Linked DNA regions of Homo sapiens: all the other regions are linked to region 3. The links are contacts of gene promoters, found by promoter capture Hi-C in human tissues and cell types (Jung and others, 2019). All regions are on one chromosome and are shown on one strand. The core of a region is centred on a gene start or on the middle of the fragment in contact, and the rest is flanking DNA. Distances in the headings are between cores, read along the strand shown. Region 1 overlaps SUGCT (succinyl-CoA:glutarate-CoA transferase). Region 2 overlaps SUGCT (succinyl-CoA:glutarate-CoA transferase). Region 3 holds the start of INHBA (inhibin subunit beta A). Region 4 overlaps SUGCT (succinyl-CoA:glutarate-CoA transferase).

Region 1 (2,707 bases), core at 157-2,656, 1.0 Mb before region 3:
GTGGAGCAGACATCTTGTTGTTCTAGAGAAGACTTAGGTGTCCAGTGGATAGCAAGCAATGAGCCCCCAAATTCTGGGGAAAATAAAAATATCACAAAGGCAATCTTTTTTACCTTTTTTATGTCTGAATTTTTTAAGAAAATCATAGATTTCCAAGCAAAGCAGAAAGACCATAGTTTGTTTAGAATGTCACTTTCAAGAGGATTATCGTGGGTAATTTTCCAATGAGAATATTTAGCAACTTTAGTGGAACATAATCCTCTCAGATTTCAGACAGAGGCTTTCTACTCCTGCTGATCTTCCATAAGGACAAAATTCTTTCCTGACTTGTACTTCCTTCACACTATATGAAGGGCATCATATAGCCAACACAGAAAATCTTCTAGTGGAATCCTGGTGCAAATGAGATGAAACCATGGCTAAAGGCCCATTTCTTATAAACAGACCACGTCTGTTTGCTCCAACTCAAATTCTTGTAGCAGCCAAACTGGCTGGACAGTTTCACTTAATTGAGTGGCAGGGGGTGGGGTGGATGGATTGAAGGGTGGGGGGATTGGGGAGAAGGATATTGAGTGAGTCATAAGGATTAGCTGTGCATATTATTTTACTCAGGGTACTCTCTTCCCTAATTCCTATGACTTACCCCTATGGATTTTCCACATGTAAGCAACAAGTAGCCACTGTAAATTACCACTTAATAGGATCAGTTCCCTATGTCAGAAACCTAAAGTACTTCCACAGAATGGGAAATTAATATTTGGCTTTTGCTTTCTGAGAATCCATGCATATGGTCACCATACTACAAAGAATTTCAAATTCATATTTACATAAATGGATTTGTTCTCTTTGCATTTGTAATAGTAACATAAAGGAGTCTTCATAGTTGAGCCCCTTATTGTTGAGTCCAAAAAGGATGCCGAAAACATGTGGAGCTTGGGATATGGGCCAAGATGGTAAACATAATGGTTACAATTTGGTTGTCTGGGACTGTTGCCTTAAAGTTGTTGTATTCACAATATCATTATATATATGATTAAGAATATTTTTGTGACATGAGTAGACTTCTGCTCAAAAAACAATTTATAAAACGTTTTAGAACCTTAAGTAGACCTTCTAGCTACCTTTAGATGTACTCTATAAATCAAATATTATCTTTCGTAAGCACTTACTTCTTCCCTATGCCTAATTATGTTAATTATTGCCCAATACATTAATTATATTAATAGGTATATTATGCTTAATATGTTAATTATTTAAAAACTACTTTCTCATAATTCTTGCTGTAAGTCATATTAATGGAATAGCAAGATATAGAGAGATCAATTCATCCCTATAATTTTTTTTTTTTGAGACAAGGTGAAACTCTGTCGCTCAGGCTGTAGTGCAGTGGCTGGATCTCAGCTTACTGCAACCTCTGACCTCCTCGGCTCAGATGATCTTCCCACCTCAGCCTCCCGAGTAGCTGGGACTACAGGCACGTGCCAAGATGCCTGACTGCCTGACTAATTTTTGTATTTTTTTGTAGAAACGGGGTTTCACCATGTTGCCCAGTTTGATCTTGAATTCCTGGGCTCAAGCCATCCACACTCCTCAGCCTCCCAAAGTGCTGAGATATAGGCAGGAGCCACCACACCTGGCCATCCATATAAACATTTGAGCTGAAATCTTAGGAGGACCTAAAGGTTGTAACTAGAAGTCACTGACAGACACCCTCAAGGTCTGGTTCTTCTCCAGAGGAAAAGGCAAGAGCCCATCTGGACGAAATATACTTGGGCCTTTTGCACTTGGCTGTCTGATATTTCCTCTGGAATAGAAAAGGAAGACTCAGGAAAAACTGATATTGGGTCTTCCTACTGTTGGAGAACTAAGGATCTCAAAGAATGAAGACGGATTCTATAGAAACAGGAAACAAGTGGAGCTGCATGAAATCCTGGAGTGACCTGGCCCTCTACTTGAAGATGCAAGAAATGGTTTTTGGGCTCAAGGTCAATCAATATTTTCTCTTACGAACCTACAGTGTATATGAGACTGTGTAGACTCCTGAAAACTACTTGATTAATTTATGTGAGAAACTTTTTTTTTTTTTGCCTTTAGTACTGATATAAGACAGAACTTTTTCTCCTCACAGCTGGATCATACCCAGAAGCCATATTTCTTACTGATCATGAGCTATCATAGCTATTGGGGTTTAGAAAGAATTGAAATCAGCATGATCAATAATTCTTCCCAGAAGTCAGGCCCAGCTTTCTGGTGAGAGTGGAATCAGATATAAACTTTTGATATATGTTAGATATACGCTAGATATATCAAAAGTTTAATGGAGCCAAACCAAGACAGCCTGCTATATCCACTCAGTGATGGCAGCCAGAAATTATTAAAGTCTTGGCTTAAGAATCCTATCTTTATCTTCATACTAGAAACTTTTTTGACATCAGATTTATAGTATTCAAGTCAAATGGAAAGTCAAATGGATGTCTTTCTTTCTTAGAGTCTGCTTGGATGAACTCACCTAAAACTTGTCTTAGAATTCTTTTTTATCTAAAGTTTCAACAACCGCCTTCTTCTTTTCTAGGGAGAGGAATGGCATGGAGTTTGGGGAAGGAGGAATATAAAGAGAAGAAAATGTGGGCAGATTTCAAGAGACACAAAAATTTGTTAAGTGCTCACCATGTAGCAAAAATATTTATAACCCTTTCTCATTGGATTC
Region 2 (2,704 bases), core at 66-2,565, 1.2 Mb before region 3:
CACCTCAGAACTTGCAGGCATTTTATTTCCTAACAAAAGTGTTACATTAGCTCATAGCCACAAAAAAGGAGCCAGGGAGAAAGGAAGGAGTGGAACCAGCCTTTGGTGGCTGCCAAGTACATGCCAGATAAGTGTTATTATTCCCACTTGATATGAAAATTCTGACATTTAGGGAGGTGGTCTCCAGGTCAGGCACATAGTGAATAGTTAGAAATGGGATTCAAAAGGCTACACCTTTTTCATCTCTCATATTGCCTCCCTGAAGTGGCACATGAAATATGACTGTGTCCTTGTTTGTTTATGCGCTCAAGAAATATTTATTGAGCACTAACTGTGTAGTAGGCACTGTTGCAAGTTGGGGATAGAGAAGTGAACGAAACAGACAAAGTGTATCCATGAAAAATAATACAGGCCAGGACAAGGAAGAATGCCAGAAGTTAAGTGTGAAGCTGGGTTTTTCATTTAGTCTGGTCACAGAGGGCTTCTCTGTGAAAGTGACATTTGATCAGAAGCTTGCAAGAAATGAGAGAAAATGTCTGAGGGAGGCTGGCAGGCATCTGGGAGATGAATTCCAGGCAGAGTTTATGGAGTAAGTCAGAGGACAGTGTGCTTGGATCTGAGGGAGCAAGAGAAGAGGGGTGTCAGGTTGGTTCAGAGAGAGTGGGAGCCCATGGCAGGCAGATCAAGTCGTGAACTCATGAAAGCCTTTATGACAAAGTAGTTTCTTAAACTTGTGAAATAAAGGATTTTTTTTTCTGGCCATAAAATGGATTTGCTTATTGCAACTTTTTTCTAACTTGAAGAGAGAGCGTCAAGGGAGGGAGTGCTCTACCTAGTAGAGAAGAGGTCAAAGCATTTCAGCAACGTGGAGTCAGGAAGACCCCGTTTCTCACCTAGGAAGACCAGAGGGCCAGGTTGAAGTGGTCTATGCTTCTCCATTTATTCAGTCTCTCACATATTCAACAAGCATTTGTTGAACACCTACTATGTGCCATGAACTGTTCTGAGCACTAGGGATATAGCAGTAAAATACAGTCAAGAATTCCTGCCCTCCTGAATTTTCATTTGGTAACCATTGCAGACTTTCTAGAAGACATACTTCTTTTTGGTAGTGGTTGTTTTTGAACTATTACTTAACACATTTGTTTCGGTGAGCCTAAGAAGTTAGTTTTCCATATTTTTCATAATAACCACTTAAAAAATTTTTTCTCTTGCAAAACTATTACAGTTATAGGCTGTACCTGTTACTCATTTATTGTACTTTTTCAACATGTTGATATACATGCTCCAGTTTTTAAAATGTGGTTTGCCAGCCATTTCCATAGTAAAAACATATTTTTAGTAACAGTAGCCACTCACAAATAATCGACTTTACCATGTGAGTCTATCGTGTTTTTGCCTGTTGTCTTCTGTTAAACCTTACATCGCAGGCACTTTCCTTTAATACTTATAGACACTTTCCTTGCCTGATATTTTTATTTTAGAAAATCTTTAAAACGTGAAAATGTGGAGGGATTCATGAGAGTGAATTTGCACAGCAGATAACTTTAAAAACAAACTCTAGGAATGATGAACTCACTGTGTTTATTTTAAAAAGTTTTCTCATCCTTTACACCCAATTCGAAGACAGTGAAAACAGAAGCATTTATGGATTTTTACAAAGTTGGCTCTTGTAAATATACACGTGAATTTCCTATTGTGTTTCAAAATCTTCCTTCCAAAGTATTTTCCTTGAGCAATTTTTGAGTACTCCCCTCCCTGTCCCTTGTAAGCCTTCATTTATATTTTTTAGAATCAGGTGATTCTCCTATGAAAAGTCCAGGCTTTTTTGGAAGTACCTACCAGAGTTGTCAGTCACTTACCTCAGTTCTCTGTTATTCTTGCTAAGTACAGTTTGAAGCTACTCTCTGAGGGCGATCAGCCTCACTCAGGACGGCAGCTGCCTGTTTTGGTCATCAGCTGCGTTTTCCACAGCCAGCACACACGATTCCCCTCAAATGCTCTCAAGTGTTACTATTCCCCAACCAGGGCTGTGAGCAAGTCTTTTTTATTAATCTAAAGGTAGAAGACTTTCCCCTGGAGTTTGCCATTTTATCCAGGGTGTTGCAGAAAGTATGTTTACCCAGCTGCTAACATTGAAAACTAGGTAAAACTCAATCATGTTAAAAATCCCTAGCTAAAACAGAAGAGGAGATATAATGGAGACTAATCCAGCGCCAGATAAAACAATCCCCTTCTTTGCAATGCTAAGGAGCAACAAACTCTTAAACCTGTGCTACTCACACACCAGATCAGCATTTTTGCAATAGTTAGGACCCCAAGAGAGATATTGCAAGTTGTGAATTGAAACTAGGAAGAGAGGGATAAAGATGATGTATTAGTGTTTGGGGAGAAATAATAGGAAAACATGAAATGAGGATGAAGGAGAAGAGAATTGATGGAGAAAATAGACATAAAATTTATTTTATTCTCTCTCTCTTCCTCTCTTCACCAACATTTATTGGCCATTGACTGTGTACCATTGTCCTGCAGATACAGAGCTGAAAGATGAAGCCTGGGCTTTTAAGGAGCTCATGGTCTAATTAGGAAAATAAACACAGAAAGCATTGATTTAAGTAGAGTGTGGGAATTACCTGGGTAATCATATGCACAGTGGATTGGGGAGCCCAGAGAAGGAGCAACTCCTTTAATCTGGGAAATCAGG
Region 3 (2,700 bases), core at 111-2,610:
TTGAATAACTGGTCCTATGGGAAAAGACTCTCTAAAATATATTGGCAAATTATTTTTCTCTGTCATGTGGTAGTTTTTTCAGCTTGCCCCAAGCCTGTCCCGACCAGTGCATTCATAGACAGCCTCCTTGACTGCTTCTTTTTCCCTCAAAGGAACAGTGCAGATGAAATCATCATGGATTTTAGTGTGCACAGAAAAAGAAAAATGTGAATTTTTTAACAATGCCTTTCTAAGGCTTAAAAAAAATTCTTCCCCCTCCCCTCTTTTTCATTTTCTGTCTTATTGCTTTTATCTTGCAGAAGAATCTTTAAGGGGTCCATCTGTTAAAGCGTTCCTTCCCTCTCGGTTTCTTTCCCACACATAAGCCCTCTTGGTTTCTGAAGATACACTCAGCTTATATCTGACACCTAGTGTGTTCATAGCATTACAGTCAAGCAATGCAGTTTAGGTGGAAAGAGTTAATAAATATCATTACTACAAGATAAGATCTGAGTGCAAGGGGAAGAGGGCAAGAAAATTGTGACACTAAGTTATAATTACAGTTTGCACAGGTTAACAATGCTTTCTGAATTATATATACTGTCCCCTTTTCCAAAACAACTATTTGTAAGACTTTTTCTGTTACAAGTAACCTAACACCTTTGGGGTTTCAGCTCCAGAAACATCAATTACTCCACCATTATTGTTAAAACTTTGTCAACATTGCCTAAAAAGCCTCATATTTTTTACGGGGATGGTGAAAGAGAATGGGGGAGGCAGGGGACATTTGTGTTACAATGGTTTTATAAAAAATCTTTGTGCTATAATACTTAACATCATCCACCTATTTGGAGTCACATATACAGTACCCAAAATGTTTTGCAGTTCAATTAAGTTTTACAAGAAAGTCTGAAATACAACCAAAAGTTTAATGGCTCTAAACAACTCAGGAGTCCTAATAGCAGCATTTAGATAAGTGCAACTTATCAATATTTGGATTCTCTCTGCATCTGAGTATGTGTGTGTTCCCTGAATTTACTGTTTGCGAATGTAACTCTTAAAAATAGCTTTCTCTTTGGCATATGTACTTGTATATATGTGCTGAGTGGCTTGTATAAACATATAATCTATTTGCATGCTCTAGGACTATTAAAAGCTGTATTAACCTGCCTGAATAATATAAAAAGGTACACATCACAATGCACATTGGAAATGCCAATTAGTTGTAAAATTCCTCCTAGCTTTCCTATCTTTGAATGTGTAAAGAGCTCAGAAGTAAGAGTTAAAAAGCATTACCTTTCTGGTCCCCACTCTTCCACCAGCCGGCTCTTGTATCATGTGGTAAGAGCTGTCTGAGCTCCTCTTCATGGTATTGGCACTGTGAAGTTTTATACTGTACTACTTATTTGTACACCACACATTGGTACCACTGAAACAGAGGAGGGCTGGGGCTTTGTTTGGGATTGGTTGGAATCAGCATGACATCAGCGGATGACTGGTTTTTCCAGTGTGAGACATTTCATAATTCATTATCTAATGGAAAGCCCTTCCTGGCTTCTGAGACACTACTGGGTGATGCACTGAGCCAGTGAAACCTCTGGCTAGGATTACTCTACCTTTTAGAAAAACATTGGAATCAAATAGATATGTCTCAATGAGTGTGTCCAACTTTCAACTTTTACTACTCGCACACACGTCTCGTTATATTCAGGTTCAGTTTTATGTCTTTACATAAAACATCTGTTACTTCATGAAGTTGCTTCTATTTACAAAGTATTTTATTGTTTCTTTCAGGAAAGAAAATTGGTAGTGTTCTTTATAGGGATTCTAATTTTATATTTTTAAAATAAGCTATTTCATTGAGGAAAAAAATTGGGAAAATCTGTATAATCATATGATGATGGTCTCCCCCGACCCCAACCAACTTACACTATTATTTTACATCTTGAAATTGAATGCCTGCTTCATAAATCAAGAACTTTGGAAATAGTAATTCTCTTTAAATGAACTTCATAAGTATCCTTCCCAGGTCTTTAGAATCTCATTCTAACTAACCAAACACACACACACACACACACACACACAACAACAACAACAACAAAAACCCTCATGCATCATTCTTTTTTACCAGAACTTCAACTCCTATAATTTCTAAATTGTTACAAATATAACAGCAGATTAATGAAAAGAAGTGAACACTCCTTGAAATAGGGGTAAAGCTGGTCAGGCTTTTTTTGTGGGGGAGGGGTGTTGGCAAGTCTGGTAAATAACACAGGAGGAAGGGGTCCTCTGACAAGAACGGTGAAGGGTTGTTTGAAGGACTACAGTTGAAGCATAAGCCCAGTTCTCATGACAAGTTGGATAAAATGTGCAAAATTGGGAGCTAATGAGAGCCATATGACCAGATATGTTGTTTTGTATGCAGGATTTAACATGCATAAAATAAACTTTTCACTGTGCCCACAAGCAAAATATAGAGGCTCTGGCCTCCTGATGTGTGGCTTAAGCAGGTTCCATTAGGACACCAGAAGTTTTCTGTGTAAAAGGGTCTCTCTTGGCTAGATACAGAGAAAGTGTGGGTGCTGAGCTGCATGGGGGTGGGGGGAAGGAGTATTCTAAGAACTGCATATGCAGAAATGAAGTAGGAAAAAAATCATTAGGTTGTAGAGGAAGAGAGTGAATCTGAGTGGCGAAGACAGAAATAGGATTAATGATGGTGAA
Region 4 (2,700 bases), core at 178-2,677, 1.2 Mb before region 3:
GGAGAACTGAAGGGAAGTCCATGAATACTCTACTATTGTTTCACTAGCCCTTTCATATTAGTAAAACATTTTAGTCTACTTTGGCTAATATTTTAAAAATGTCTCTTTGGTTACCTAGATTATTAATTAATTAAAACAGGTTTGATATTTTAATAATCAATAATTCTGAAATTCTTCATACCTTAGAAACTAATTGTGTTGTGGTGTCCCTATAGATCCAAGATTTTATTTCTGTGTTCACTGTTTTTACAGAGAAGAAATATAAAACAATAAATCTCATAAATGTGTTAGCTTCCCTTCCTTGAGACCTATTAGAGAAAATAAAGAAAATCCATGTGCTTTTCTGTCTATGAAGTCCAATTTTAAATTATAGTAGAAATAAAACAGACAAAGGATTTGGATGAATTTGAGTTTTGTTGGTTAAACTGAAATATCACTCTTTGCATGTCTTGAGTTGTGCTGGTTAGTAAATCACAGTGCAAAGGTTGTTTGTAGGCCAATGGTTGTGACCATTAATTTTTGTGTACTTTTCCCAAAGCTTTCTTAAAACAGCTATATTAGTATTTTTTTTGTTTTGAAGAATAATATATCAGTGCCTATCCTAACCCGATTTCCACTACCTGAGACCTAAAAGACATATTGCCCAATGACTTCACGCTCAAAGTACAATGATATTATTATTATTAAATTCATAAATTGCTCAGAGAGTTCATAGCAATAGAAATAGGAAGAATTACATCTCTAAATGATGGATTTTTAAACACTAGCACCTGGGTGGCTACTCTTATCCACCACAGGGCCACTCAAGTCATTTCATACAGACAACCTTCTCTCAAATGAGGTGTAAAGAAAGACTAGGAAACATAGTTTTATGACTATTGCTTGCTTTCAAAGAGGGCCACATGATAGAAGAGGCTGTGTTACATTCCTTCCTGTGTAAAAAATTTATCCTTGTTTGTCTTCTTAGGTTTGAAGAAGAACTGACCAGCAAGTGGTTATATCTTTTTGAAGGCAGTGGAGTCCCGTATGGCCCAATCAACAACATGAAGAATGTATTTGCAGAACCTCAGGTTTGTTTTTGAAGTTTAACAACGCCTCTGTTTTCTGTCCAGATTGACTTATATCAAGGTACCTTTGCCATTGATCGCAAGCTTAAGTCACATGATGTGAATTTTCACCATCATATTAAAATTGTTTGTGGGTCTGAGATAAAAAGAACCAGAACTTAGAAGTGCCTGTCCATAAGCATACTTATGTCTCTGTTAGATTTAATATACTGTATTTCTTCATCAGCCACTACATGAAGTTTCTGTGGCCAGGGTATTTAATTTTCCTGAAAAACAGAAATATACACAATTGAGATATTGGGGTTGGGTACTCAGAGACTATTCTTTGTAGGAAGAAATATGAGAACTTTCATACCTCTGATCATATGATTATCTTAAACCTCTGATCATATGATTATACCTCTGATCATATGATTATCTCTCTGATCATATGATTATCTTAAAATGTACAGAGCAAGTCATATTTAATTCTGCAGATGAGAGGACTTTGTTTGCTTTGATGAATATGTGTTATTTGTAAGGCATAAATTTTACACAGATAGATATTTGTGCTCTACGTTGCTTATCAGGCTCCTTTTTGGGCTCCAGGAACAGGGTCACCTGAAAATATATTTACTTTATAACATTGTTCAAGTGATTATTTTTAGATTATGTGAAAATAATGTTTTGATTTTATTACTTCAATCAAAAAACTACAAGCAATTTACCATTTCTCAAATTCATCCATCGATCCCCAAAAGTACAGGGAGTCCATTTTAAAGCTTTCACTATGATTATTCAACTGTCTTGTCAGTTTCCAAAATTCAAAACCATGGGGTATATTTTCTTGGGTTCTTTATATTTATATCGTGGCAGGTTTTTCTTAGAAATAAATTACTGAGCATAGAATACACCTTTTGAGGGAGGAGACCTTTGTTGGAAAACCTTTGGTGCCTTTTATCTTACATGAATATCTGCTTAAAAGAAAATTGAAATATTTTAAATTTAATGGTTACTACATTTACTGGAGAAAAAAAGTGAATGAATTCAGGAATTCTGCTTGTGCTATTTTTTCGGCCAAGATTGTGAATATCTCAAGGCTTTGTTCATGTTAAAACTTTGGTCAATAATGGTCAATAAGTATTTGAGATAAAGGGGCCCATTTGGTGTGTACTATGTGAATTCATCTGAAAGGGACCCCACACCATCAGTGGATTAATGCCTGGTGATTCTTTACAAGGAGGTAGCATTGTGCATACTCTGAATATAGTAGACCAGGGGACTGTTTTTCTCACTTTATAACTTTGAGTGAGGCCAAGCCATCATTTGAAGCTGTCGTGTATTGAGGTGTACGTAGAACTTCATGTTTACCTCAGTTTGAGGGTACATTTTTCTGGAGATATTTCCTAAGAGTTTTTCCATCAGCATTTCTATTGCTCCATCTGTGTTTTATTAGAGATGAAGGCACCAAAGCAAAGAGTTATTTTTAAATAATTATATTATTTAAAAATATATTAAGTATATTCTAACACTACCTATTTTTTAGGCTTTGATAAACAAAGATTTATAATCCCACCCACTATCTTAAAATAATTCACTTTATTGGCTAGCTCAAAGTGAATATAGGATAATTAGGATTTTTATAACTAATTTT

What was found. The method cuts DNA at HindIII sites, captures the fragments that hold promoters and counts their contacts. A contact is called where the count stands out against the background at its distance.
Region 1: a fragment that was not itself captured here is called in contact with the fragment with the promoter of INHBA in region 3 in 1 of the 25 tissues and cell types used here (aorta).
Region 2: a fragment that was not itself captured here is called in contact with the fragment with the promoter of INHBA in region 3 in 2 of the 25 tissues and cell types used here (dorsolateral prefrontal cortex and lymphoblastoid cells).
Region 4: a contact is called between a fragment that was not itself captured here and the fragment with the promoter of INHBA in region 3, in 2 of the 25 tissues and cell types used here (H1 embryonic stem cells and aorta).

The regions. Positions count from the first base shown.
Region 1 is chr7:40,689,238-40,691,944 of GRCh38, forward strand. The region is part of intron 12 of SUGCT (succinyl-CoA:glutarate-CoA transferase); the gene reads left to right. Among named protein-coding and RNA genes, the nearest start is that of SUGCT-AS1, 140 kb to the left of the region's middle. The HindIII fragment of the contact is 5,614 bases long and covers 1-2,707 here.
Region 2 is chr7:40,461,704-40,464,407 of GRCh38, forward strand. All of the region lies in intron 11 of SUGCT (succinyl-CoA:glutarate-CoA transferase), which reads left to right. Among named protein-coding and RNA genes, the nearest start is that of SUGCT-AS1, 84 kb to the right of the region's middle. The HindIII fragment of the contact is 4,360 bases long and covers 1-2,704 here.
Region 3 is chr7:41,701,730-41,704,429 of GRCh38, forward strand. It overlaps INHBA (inhibin subunit beta A), which reads right to left and starts at 1,361. Exons shown (of 3, transcript NM_002192.4): 1 at 1,276-1,361. All of the region lies in intron 1 of INHBA-AS1 (INHBA antisense RNA 1), which reads left to right. The HindIII fragment of the contact is 9,174 bases long and covers 1-2,700 here.
Region 4 is chr7:40,495,317-40,498,016 of GRCh38, forward strand. It overlaps SUGCT (succinyl-CoA:glutarate-CoA transferase), which reads left to right. Exons shown (of 14, transcript NM_001193313.2): 12 at 968-1,070. Among named protein-coding and RNA genes, the nearest start is that of SUGCT-AS1, 50 kb to the right of the region's middle. The HindIII fragment of the contact is 3,548 bases long and covers 1-2,700 here.